Linked DNA regions of Homo sapiens: regions 1 and 2 are each linked to region 3. The links are contacts of gene promoters, found by promoter capture Hi-C in blood cells and fetal thymus (Javierre and others, 2016). All regions are on one chromosome and are shown on one strand. Each heading gives the region's core, a stretch centred on a gene start or on the middle of the fragment in contact. The rest is flanking DNA. Distances are from core to core; before and after follow the strand shown.

What was found. The method cuts DNA at HindIII sites, captures the fragments that hold promoters and counts their contacts. A CHiCAGO score of 5 or more calls a contact.
Region 1: a contact is called between a fragment that was not itself captured here and the fragment with the promoter of ROCK1 in region 3, in 3 of 17 cell types (naive B cells, total B cells and naive CD4 T cells). The highest score is 5.4, in naive B cells.
Region 2: a contact is called between a fragment that was not itself captured here and the fragment with the promoter of ROCK1 in region 3, in 4 of 17 cell types (total B cells, naive B cells, naive CD4 T cells and 1 more). The highest score is 6.5, in total B cells.

What each region holds. Positions count from the first base shown.
Region 1 is chr18:20,932,877-20,936,015 of GRCh38, reverse strand. No RefSeq gene overlaps it. Among named protein-coding and RNA genes, the nearest start is that of ROCK1, 180 kb to the left of the region's middle. RefSeq lists enhancers at 1-474, 475-1,080, 1,081-1,688, 1,689-2,294, 2,295-2,902 and 1 more. The HindIII fragment of the contact is 5,772 bases long and covers 1-3,139 here.
Region 2 is chr18:20,966,540-20,969,999 of GRCh38, reverse strand. It overlaps ROCK1 (Rho associated coiled-coil containing protein kinase 1), which reads left to right. Exons shown (of 33, transcript NM_005406.3): 24 at 792-885; 25 at 1,140-1,228; 26 at 2,060-2,248; 27 at 2,924-3,083. Among named protein-coding and RNA genes, the nearest start is that of ROCK1, 140 kb to the left of the region's middle. The HindIII fragment of the contact is 451 bases long and covers 1,327-1,777 here.
Region 3 is chr18:21,110,154-21,113,445 of GRCh38, reverse strand. It overlaps ROCK1 (Rho associated coiled-coil containing protein kinase 1), which reads left to right and starts at 1,633. Exons shown (of 33, transcript NM_005406.3): 1 at 1,633-2,628. The coding sequence starts at 2,536. RefSeq lists enhancers at 1,035-1,094, 1,125-1,344, 1,444-1,738, 1,392-1,980 and a silencer at 1,385-1,774. The HindIII fragment of the contact is 6,843 bases long and covers 1-3,292 here.

The DNA of each region.
Region 1 (3,139 bases), core at 205-2,704, 180 kb after region 3:
CCAAATATCCACTTGCAGATTCTCCAAAAAGAGTCTTTCAAAAGTGCTCTGTAAATAGAAAGTTTCAACTCTGTTAGTTGAGGACAAACATCACAATCCAGTTTGTGAGAATGCTTCTGTCTAGTTTTTATGGGAAGATATTTCCTTTTGCACCGTAAGCGTCAAAGCGCTCCAAGTGTCCACATCCAGATACTACGGAAAGAGGGTTTCAAACCTGCTCTATGAAAGGGAATGATCAACTCTGTGACGTGAATGCAGACATCATAAAGCAGTTTCTGAGAATGTTTCTGTCTAGGTTTTCTATGTTGATACTCCCGTTTCCAACGAAATAGTGAGAGCTATCCAACTATCCACTTACATATTCTACAAAAAGAGTGTTTCCAAACTGCTGTATCATAAGAAAGGATGAACTCTGTTAGTTGAGGACACACATCACAAAGAAATTTCTGAGAATGCTTCTGTCTAGTTTTTATGGGAAGATATTTCCGTTTTCAACATAGGCCTGAAATCGCTCGAAATGTCCATGTCCACATACTACAGAAATAGTGTTTCAAACCTGCTCTATGAAAGGGAATGATCAACTCTGTGACGTGAATGCAGACATCATAAAGCAGTTTCTGAGAATTTTTCTGTCTAGGTTTTCTATGTTGATACTCCCGTTTCCAATGAAATAATGAGAGCTATCCAACTATCCACTTACATATTCTACAAAAAGAGTGTTTCAAAACTGCTGTATCATAAGAAAGGATGAACTCTGTTAGTTGAGGACACACATCACAAAGAAATTTCTGAGAATGCTTCTGTCTAGTATTTATGGGAAGATATTTCCGTTTTCAACATAGGCCTGAAATCGCTCGAAATGTCCATGTCCAGATACTACAGAAATAGTGTTTCAAACCTGCTCTATGTAAGGGAATATTCAACTCTGTGACTTAAAAGCAAACATCACAAAGAAGGTTCTGAGAATGCTGCTGTCTACTTTTTATATGTAATCCCGTTTCCAAGGAAATCCTCAGAGCTATCCTAATATCCACTTGCAGATTCCACAACAAGAGCTTCTCAAAACTGACCTATAAATAGAAAGGTTCAACTCTGTTAGTTGAGTACATATATCCCAAAGAAGTTTCTTAGAATGCTTCTGTCTAGTTTTTATGGGAAAACATTTCCTTTTTCACCAAAGGCGTCAAAGCGCTAAAAATGTCCACTTCCAGATACTACAAAGTGTCTCAAACCTGCTCTAAGAAAGGGAATGTTCAACTCTGTGACTTGAGTGCAGATATCACAAAGCAGTTTCTGAGAGTGCCTCTGTCTAGATTTTATATGAAGGTATTCCCATTTCCTATGAAATCGTTAGAGCTATCCAAATATCCACTTGCATATTCTACAAAAGGAGTGTTTCGAAACTGCTGTATCAAAAGAAAGGTTGAACTCTGTTAGTTAAGGACACACATCACAAAGAAGTTTCTGAGAATGCTTCTGTGTAGATTTTACATGAATATAGTCCCGTTTCCAAGGAAATCCTTAAAGCCATCCAATTATCCACTTGCAGATTTTACAAAAAGAGTGTTTCAAAACTGCTGTGTAAAAAGAAACGTTCAACTCTGTCAGTTGAGTACACACATCACAAACAAGTTTCTGAGAATGCTTCTGTCTAGTTTTTATGGGAAGATATTTCCTTTTTCTCCAAAGTCGGCAAAGCGCTCCAAAGATCCATTTCCAGATACAACAAAAAGAGTGTTTCAAACCAGCTCTATGAAAGGGAATGTTCAACTCTGTGACTTGAATGCAGATATCACAAAGTACCTCCTGAGAGTGCTTCTGTCTAGATTTTATATGAAGATATTCCCGTTTCCAAGGAAATCGTCAGAGCTATCCAAATATCCACTTGCAGATTCTGCAAAAAGAGTGTTTCCAAACTGCTGTATCCAAAGACAGGTTGTACTCTGTTAGGTGGGGACACATATCACAAAGAAGTTTCTGAGAATGACTTTTCCGTTTCCAATGAAATCTACTTAAAGGTATCCAAATATCCGCTTGCAGATTCTACAAAAAGAGTCTTTCAAAACTGCCCTGTAAATAGAAAGGTTCAACTCTGTTAGTGGAGGACATACATCACAAAGCAGTTTGTGAGAAGGCTTCTGTCTAGTTTTTAAGGGAAGATATTTCCTATGTCACCGTACGCGTCAAAGCGCTCAAATGTCCACATCCAGATACTACAGAAACGGTGTTACAAACGTGCTCGATGAAAGAGAATGTTCAATTCTGTGACTTGAATGCAGACATCACAAAGCAGTTTCTGAGAGTGCCTCTGTCTAGATTGTATATGAAGATATTCCCGTTTCCAACGAAATCTTCAAAGTTATCGAAATATCCGCTTGCAGATACTACAAAAAGAGTGTTTCTAAACTGTTGTATCAAAAGAAACGTTCAACTCTGTTAGTTGAGGACACCCATCACAAATAAGTTTCTGAGAATGCTTCTGTCTACTTTTTATGGGAAGTTATTTCCTTTTTCAACATAGGCCTGACATCGCTCGAAATGTCCACTTAGAGATACTACAGAAAGAGTGTTTCAAAACTGCTCTATGGAAGGGAATGTTCAACTCTGTGACTTAAAAGCAAACATCACAAGGAGCTTCTGAGAATGCTGCTGTCTATATTTTATATGTAATCCCGATTCCAACGAAATCCTCAGAGCTATCCAAATATCCACTTGCAGATTCCACAAAAAGAGCATTTCAAACTGATCTATAAAGAGAAAGGTTCAACTCGGTTAGTTGAGTGCATATATCACAAAGAAGTTTCTTAGAATGCTTCTGTCTAGTTTTTATGGGAAGACATTTCCTTTTTCACCAAAGGCGTGAAAGCGCTCCAAATGTCCACTTCCAGATACTACAAAAAGTGTGTTTCAAACGTGCTCTAAGAAAGGGAATGTTCAACTCTGTGACCTGAATGCAGATATCACAAAGTAGCTCCTGAGAGTGCTTCTGTACAGATTTTATATGAAGACATTCCCGTTTCCAACGAAATCGTTAGAGCTATCCAAATATCCACTTGAAGATTCTACAAAAAGAGTGTTTCCAAACTGCTGTATCAAAAGAAAGGTTGAACTCTGTTAGTTGAGGACACACATCACAAAG
Region 2 (3,460 bases), core at 303-2,802, 140 kb after region 3:
AATTCTGTGAAATATAGAGAAACCATTTGGGAATGAGGAATTCTTGGGATAATATATAAATCCATTATAAGAAAACCAATACTCCAAACAATTACCTATTCCTGAGGTTTATACTGTAATCTATATAGAATCATGCGACTAAAAAGAGGAGTTAGATTTTTCTTGTAAAGCCACTATCAGTCACTCTGGGTTCCAGTTTTGCCCCTAAGAAGTTATATGGTCTTGGCAAAGTTGGCTTTAACTTCTCTAAGCCTCAGATTTCTCATCTATAAAATAGAAATAGTAATATCTCTTCCACATGATTGTTATGAGGATTAAATAAGACAGTAGACATAGAATGATTAATATAACATATAACAAGTAATGATTATATATTACTAAAAGTAATCTATAAATAAATGTTTTTATTATCGTTTTCATCATCAATATTCAGATAAAGATATTGAAGTCCAGAAAAAGTATGACTTGCTCGGGGTCACATACTAGGTTAATCGCAGAGCTAGAACTAAATACAAATTTCTTAGTTTGCAATCTAGTTATCTTGCCATTACATATGCCCCCCTTTTGTTCATACATATATCTATATGCATACAATGAAATAATTTTTGGATGCTGTTAACTACTTTTAAATATTTTTGATGTAATTACATATTTTAAGCTGGAAACCAGACATTTGCTGTAGTTCAGCAGTGTCTGACCTGTCTTTATCTAGCAGTATATTTAAAGGTTACTGCCTGAAATACGAGAATAGCAAAGAGGCTGGAGCTTAAACTTTTGTGTGCTTTGTTTAGCTTGAAGAAGCAAACAGCATGCTAACCAAAGATATTGAAATATTAAGAAGAGAGAATGAAGAGCTAACAGAGAAAATGAAGAAGGCAGAGGAAGGTATGTAGAATTTTTAAAAAATCATCATGTTAAATCAAATTCAGTGATTTATCTTTACCTATGTTGTGTTAGGTTTCTAAGATACCTGTTTTCATATATTAAGTAACTTCTGTAGCCTTAAGAATTATCTTAATGAAGTTACTGAAAGTTACTATGTAATGTATACTTATTTGAATAATTAAAGACATTGTTAGTTTGAAATGCAGAAATTAAATTAATACCATACAATAACATTTAATATAATTTGTTGACAGAATATAAACTGGAGAAGGAGGAGGAGATCAGTAATCTTAAGGCTGCCTTTGAAAAGAATATCAACACTGAACGAACCCTTAAAACACAGGTATACATGCTTTCGATCTTTTCCACATGTTCATTTTTGAGTTAATCATTGCTCTTTATGCACTTTTTCCTAAAACCAAGGCTTATAAGGTTCAAGCTTTTCATCAGAACAAATAAATTCTCTCCCCGCTAACTATAAAAAACTTATTTGTGAAATAGAATTTCAAGGCCAGGCGCGGTGGCTCATGCCTGTAATCCCAACACTTTAGGAGGCTGAGGCCAGCAGAACACTTAAGGCCAGGAGTTCGAGAGCAGCCTGGCTGACATCGAAACCCCAGTCTCTACTAAAAATACAAAAATTAGCCGGGCGTGGTGGTGCGCTCCAGTAATACCAGCTAGTCAGGTGGCTGAGGCACGAGAATTGCTTGAACCCAGGAGGCAGAGGTTGCAGTGAGCAAAGATCATGCCACTGCATGCCAGCCTGGGCGACAGAGCAAGACCCAGTCTCAAAAAAAAAAAAAGAAATAGGATTTCAGTTAAGAAAGCTAACTTGCCTAGTAATATTGTATAGTTGTAGAAGATAAGAGTATGTGGCCAAGGCATAGAAGCTTTATTTGCTAGTACCCAACATCAGAGTAGGATTAGCATACTCTTGATTCAGTACTGGGTTGTAAAGTTAACCAAAGAAAGGCTCCTGGTTCTTACATTTAAGTAGTGTGATAAGTCAGTGTTAGTTACTTGTGCTACCAGTTATCATGTCTCAACCATCATGAAGTTGTCCTAATTTTCATACACACAGAAAGTCCTGCTTCCTGATTTTGAAGAAAAAAATACATTTTAGTATTAAATTGGATGACTACACTATTGATCTTTATTAATAATATTTTAATAGGCTGTTAACAAATTGGCAGAAATAATGAATCGAAAAGATTTTAAAATTGATAGAAAGAAAGCTAATACACAAGATTTGAGAAAGAAAGAAAAGGAAAATCGAAAGCTGCAACTGGAACTCAACCAAGAAAGAGAGAAATTCAACCAGATGGTAGTGAAACATCAGAAGGAACTGAATGACATGCAAGCGGTAAGGTTTCTGTGTGTGTATGGATATGAGTGTGAAGGATTATTTTCTTAAATTATTTCTGTATATACTTGTTATCTATTTATCTTGTTTAGATTGGGAACAATCAAGGGTTCTGCCTGTTTGGTTTCAGACTGAAATTGGGATATGGCTGTTATAATATTAACTATAATTGGGGTAGAGGTTTTGAAGTATTGTAGCTTATTTATTTTCTCTAGTCAAGACTCACTTTTTTGAAATCAAAATAACAAGCTTAATTTTTTGATACCCCTTGGCTTGTTAATAGAACAAAATTGAGAACCTGGTCTCGGGCACTTAGATCTAAGCTTTTTAGCTCCATCAGTTATGGTTTTCTGAAGTTTTCTATACCTTTAAAGCTACTTCATTTGGAGCCAGAAAAGCATTTTCTTTTGTTGTAACTTTTTTGTTTTGATGGCTTATGTTTGAAAACAAAAACAAAAACTCTTTTTAAGGCAAGGAGAAAAGGAATTTGTCCGAGCATTGTATTACTGAGAAAGAACTTGACATTTCTGTAGTGTATCAAAATCTGTGGTAGCAAACATTCATGAAGTTTACTGTACATTTTTAGTATTAGCAATTTAAATTATCATATTTCAATTAGTAATGTTGGAAATTGTTTTAGCTTGATTATATTATCTTGATACTTTTCAAAATTAGCAATTGGTAGAAGAATGTGCACATAGGAATGAGCTTCAGATGCAGTTGGCCAGCAAAGAGAGTGATATTGAGCAATTGCGTGCTAAACTTTTGGACCTCTCGGATTCTACAAGTGTTGCTAGTTTTCCTAGTGCTGATGAAACTGATGGTAACCTCCCAGGTAAGAATAATTCTGTATCATTCAAACATGTATAAATGTCATGGAAATTAGTGTATATTTCTTTCATTTGGTTTTCTACCTCCTTGTCATTTTGTCCATGGATTCCTAAGAAGGAATTCTTATTTCTGATAGCCAAGGCCTGATGATGATTATACACTTGGTGTATTTTGTGGAGTAGAGCAGTTGTAAGCAATCTTAGGCTATTTAAATAGACCTAAGAAGCTTTACCTGAATAAAAACCATAAGAGGTTTATGAACCTATTTTGAGCAGCCTAAGTCCACAGTGAGAGTCAAAGCTGCTACTACACATCTCACTATTTTTTAAAAGTTGTACATTTTTGTGAGTAATAGCTCTTTAACATTTTATGTATTCTTGT
Region 3 (3,292 bases), core at 384-2,883:
CTAGTAGATATTTCTAGAAATATATGGACCCCACATATATTTCTAGTAGTTCTGCCAGGTTGGTTATCACTTCCACTTATATTTATCAGTGTCACTCATGTATTGTCTTAACTACTTGTATTTTTTCGTATGTGTCTAAATGGAAAGCAACATAATGTTCACGGTTCTCTGAGAAACAACAAAATTCCTAATACCTAAAAATGGTAATAATAATAAAAAAAAGACAAGCAGGGTTTAGGAAATTTATTTTAGGGCAACTGCCTGATTTATTTTAAGCCCTATGCTTAAAAATAAGTCTAATTCACATGACTTAAAATGCTGGAGCCAAGAAAAGTCGCTGCAAAGGCATTTAATGAAATACCTGGTTTGTCTAGTTGTCTTTGTTATGATTTTTGTATAAACCAAGAACGTCCTATCTTGATATATATAGTGGATTTTATATCTAAATATTTCTTGTATTTAATAAATTGAAAATAGAAATAGACATTTTTTCAAACAGTGTAAGATTTTCCTAACCTCTGACTCACATCGTAAGGCTGGTGGACTGTTCAGATGCTGTACGATGCTTTTTACTCCGATGCTTTTTGGTTCATCTGTAGCATTTTCCATCATGGGGTAAAAGATCCACATTTTCTATTTCTAGTGATCCTTAATTTGGCTTCTGAGCAAAAATAAAGTTTGATGAGGAATAAATTAAGGTAGATTTCCTGCTGAAACCAGTGAAGAACATAACTTTATCAGCGGGGGTGAGTGACAAGTCTTTCACCTTTCCTCACACCACAGTCAACGAAGTAACGGAACTAGGAGAAATGCCCATTATTCTCATGTCCTACATTAGTTCTGATAAAAATCACAATTAAGTTTCACTGAATGTTTTGACATTGAAACGGCAGCATTACACGTCCAGGAGAGAACTACAGTAGGGGTGTTATGAGAACTAACACGAACGACTTAAAAATATTGATTTTTTTCTACGAGATTATTTTCCTTTAAAAAAATTAAATTGAGCTTGACTTCTATTGACTGTATCTTCCGGAGTCAGTATTTTATGGCTCCCCTGACACACACGCCTGGCGTGGGAGGGCTGAGCGCTGCAGCGCTTCGGAACTTTCCCAGTGAATCGTAAATGGGTTCAACGCCGGGGCTCGCGGAGGGCTGTCCATGGAGTACCACTGAAAACCAAACGCCACTGGTGCTCAATGCTGGTACCTGCCGACGAAAAGGCTTCTTGCCTAAAAAAGAACCTATTGCCCCACCCTAACAGCAACAAGGAGAACAAGCACTCTCTCCTCGTCAGAAGTCTCTGGACTGGCTGCAACCCAGAGGAAACAGAGCTGGGGCATCTGCCGGGACAGCGATCAGAAGCAGCCAGAGCTCCGCCTCCGTCCGGACCTCCAAGGCCGCTCCAGAGCCCTGCATGGCTCCTCAGAGCCGGCCAAGGCGAGAACCTTGCCGGCAGCTGCTTACCCGCACTCGGCTCCTCCCAGCGGTCCGCCTTCTCCACCGCCTGCCCGCAAGGCCCCGCCCACCTCACCGCCCCGCCCCACCCCACCCTGCGGAGGCGACAGAGTGCGCGCGCGCGCGCGGGGTCCCGGCTGGTTCCCCTTCCGAGCGTCCGCGCCCCGCATGCGCAGTCTGCCCCGGCGGTCTCCGTTTGTTTGAACAGGAAGGCGGACATATTAGTCCCTCTCAGCCCCCCTCGCCCCACCCCCCAGGCATTCGCCGCCGCGACTCGCCCTTTCCCCGGCTGGGACCGCAGCCCCTCCCAGAAGCTCCCCCATCAGCAGCCGCCGGGACCCAACTATCGTCTTCCTCTTCGCCCGCTCTCCAGCCTTTCCTCTGCTAAGTCTCCATCGGGCATCGACCTCGCCCTGCCCCACCGGACACCGTAGCAGCAGCCCCAGCAGCGACGGGACAAAATGGGAGAGTGAGGCTGTCCTGCGTGGACCAGCTCGTGGCCGAGACTGATCGGTGCGTCGGGCCGGGCCGAGTAGAGCCGGGGACGCGGGGCTAGACCGTCTACAGCGCCTCTGAGCGGAGCGGGCCCGGCCCGTGGCCCGAGCGGCGGCCGCAGCTGGCACAGCTCCTCACCCGCCCTTTGCTTTCGCCTTTCCTCTTCTCCCTCCCTTGTTGCCCGGAGGGAGTCTCCACCCTGCTTCTCTTTCTCTACCCGCTCCTGCCCATCTCGGGACGGGGACCCCTCCATGGCGACGGCGGCCGGGGCCCGCTAGACTGAAGCACCTCGCCGGAGCGACGAGGCTGGTGGCGACGGCGCTGTCGGCTGTCGTGAGGGGCTGCCGGGTGGGATGCGACTTTGGGCGTCCGAGCGGCTGTGGGTCGCTGTTGCCCCCGGCCCGGGGTCTGGAGAGCGGAGGTCCCCTCAGTGAGGGGAAGACGGGGGAACCGGGCGCACCTGGTGACCCTGAGGTTCCGGCTCCTCCGCCCCGCGGCTGCGAACCCACCGCGGAGGAAGTTGGTTGAAATTGCTTTCCGCTGCTGGTGCTGGTAAGAGGGCATTGTCACAGCAGCAGCAACATGTCGACTGGGGACAGTTTTGAGACTCGATTTGAAAAAATGGACAACCTGCTGCGGGATCCCAAATCGGAAGTGAATTCGGATTGTTTGCTGGTGAGTAGCGCTGTTCTCTTTTGCTTGTCTGGGGTTTTGCATGTCTTTCCTTCCTCTTGCATTAGTCTGGTTCGCTGCAAAAGTCTCAGGTGTGCATAATCGTCTTGGAAAATGCTAGATTTCTGTTTCCTGAAGAATCTTGGAGTACCATTAACATCTCATGGTGTGGTCCTATTTGCCATTTGACTGGCTCTGTACTAACTACTCTGAACTTTTAATTCTGACTCAGTTCATGAGTACCCGAAAGATACTTACAAACTGCTATTGCAGGCATCCTATAAAAAGTTATCACGTCAGAGTTACTGCAATGTATACAGTTTGTTGAATGGCGATCGTAGTAATTAATGTTAATCTTTCTGATCCGTTTGACAGTTAAATTGGAAAGACTACTTTGCATTTTTTTTCCTTTTTGCGATTTAGCTCCTAGGGGTTTAGTTTTTAGCCTTGAAAATGATAACGGAGAATTGCTATTGAGGAAGTGATTTTTGAGCCAAAATTTCATAGGTGATTTGAGTTTGAAGGAACTTTTTGCTAAACTATTGTAAAAAACCAAGATAATTGGTCATAGGTAATTACAGTGTTAACTTATTTTATTGTATTATTGGTTACAAAAGTACGTACCATACAGTTATTGTAACTGTCTTTTTGGTGGTGTGGCACTTAA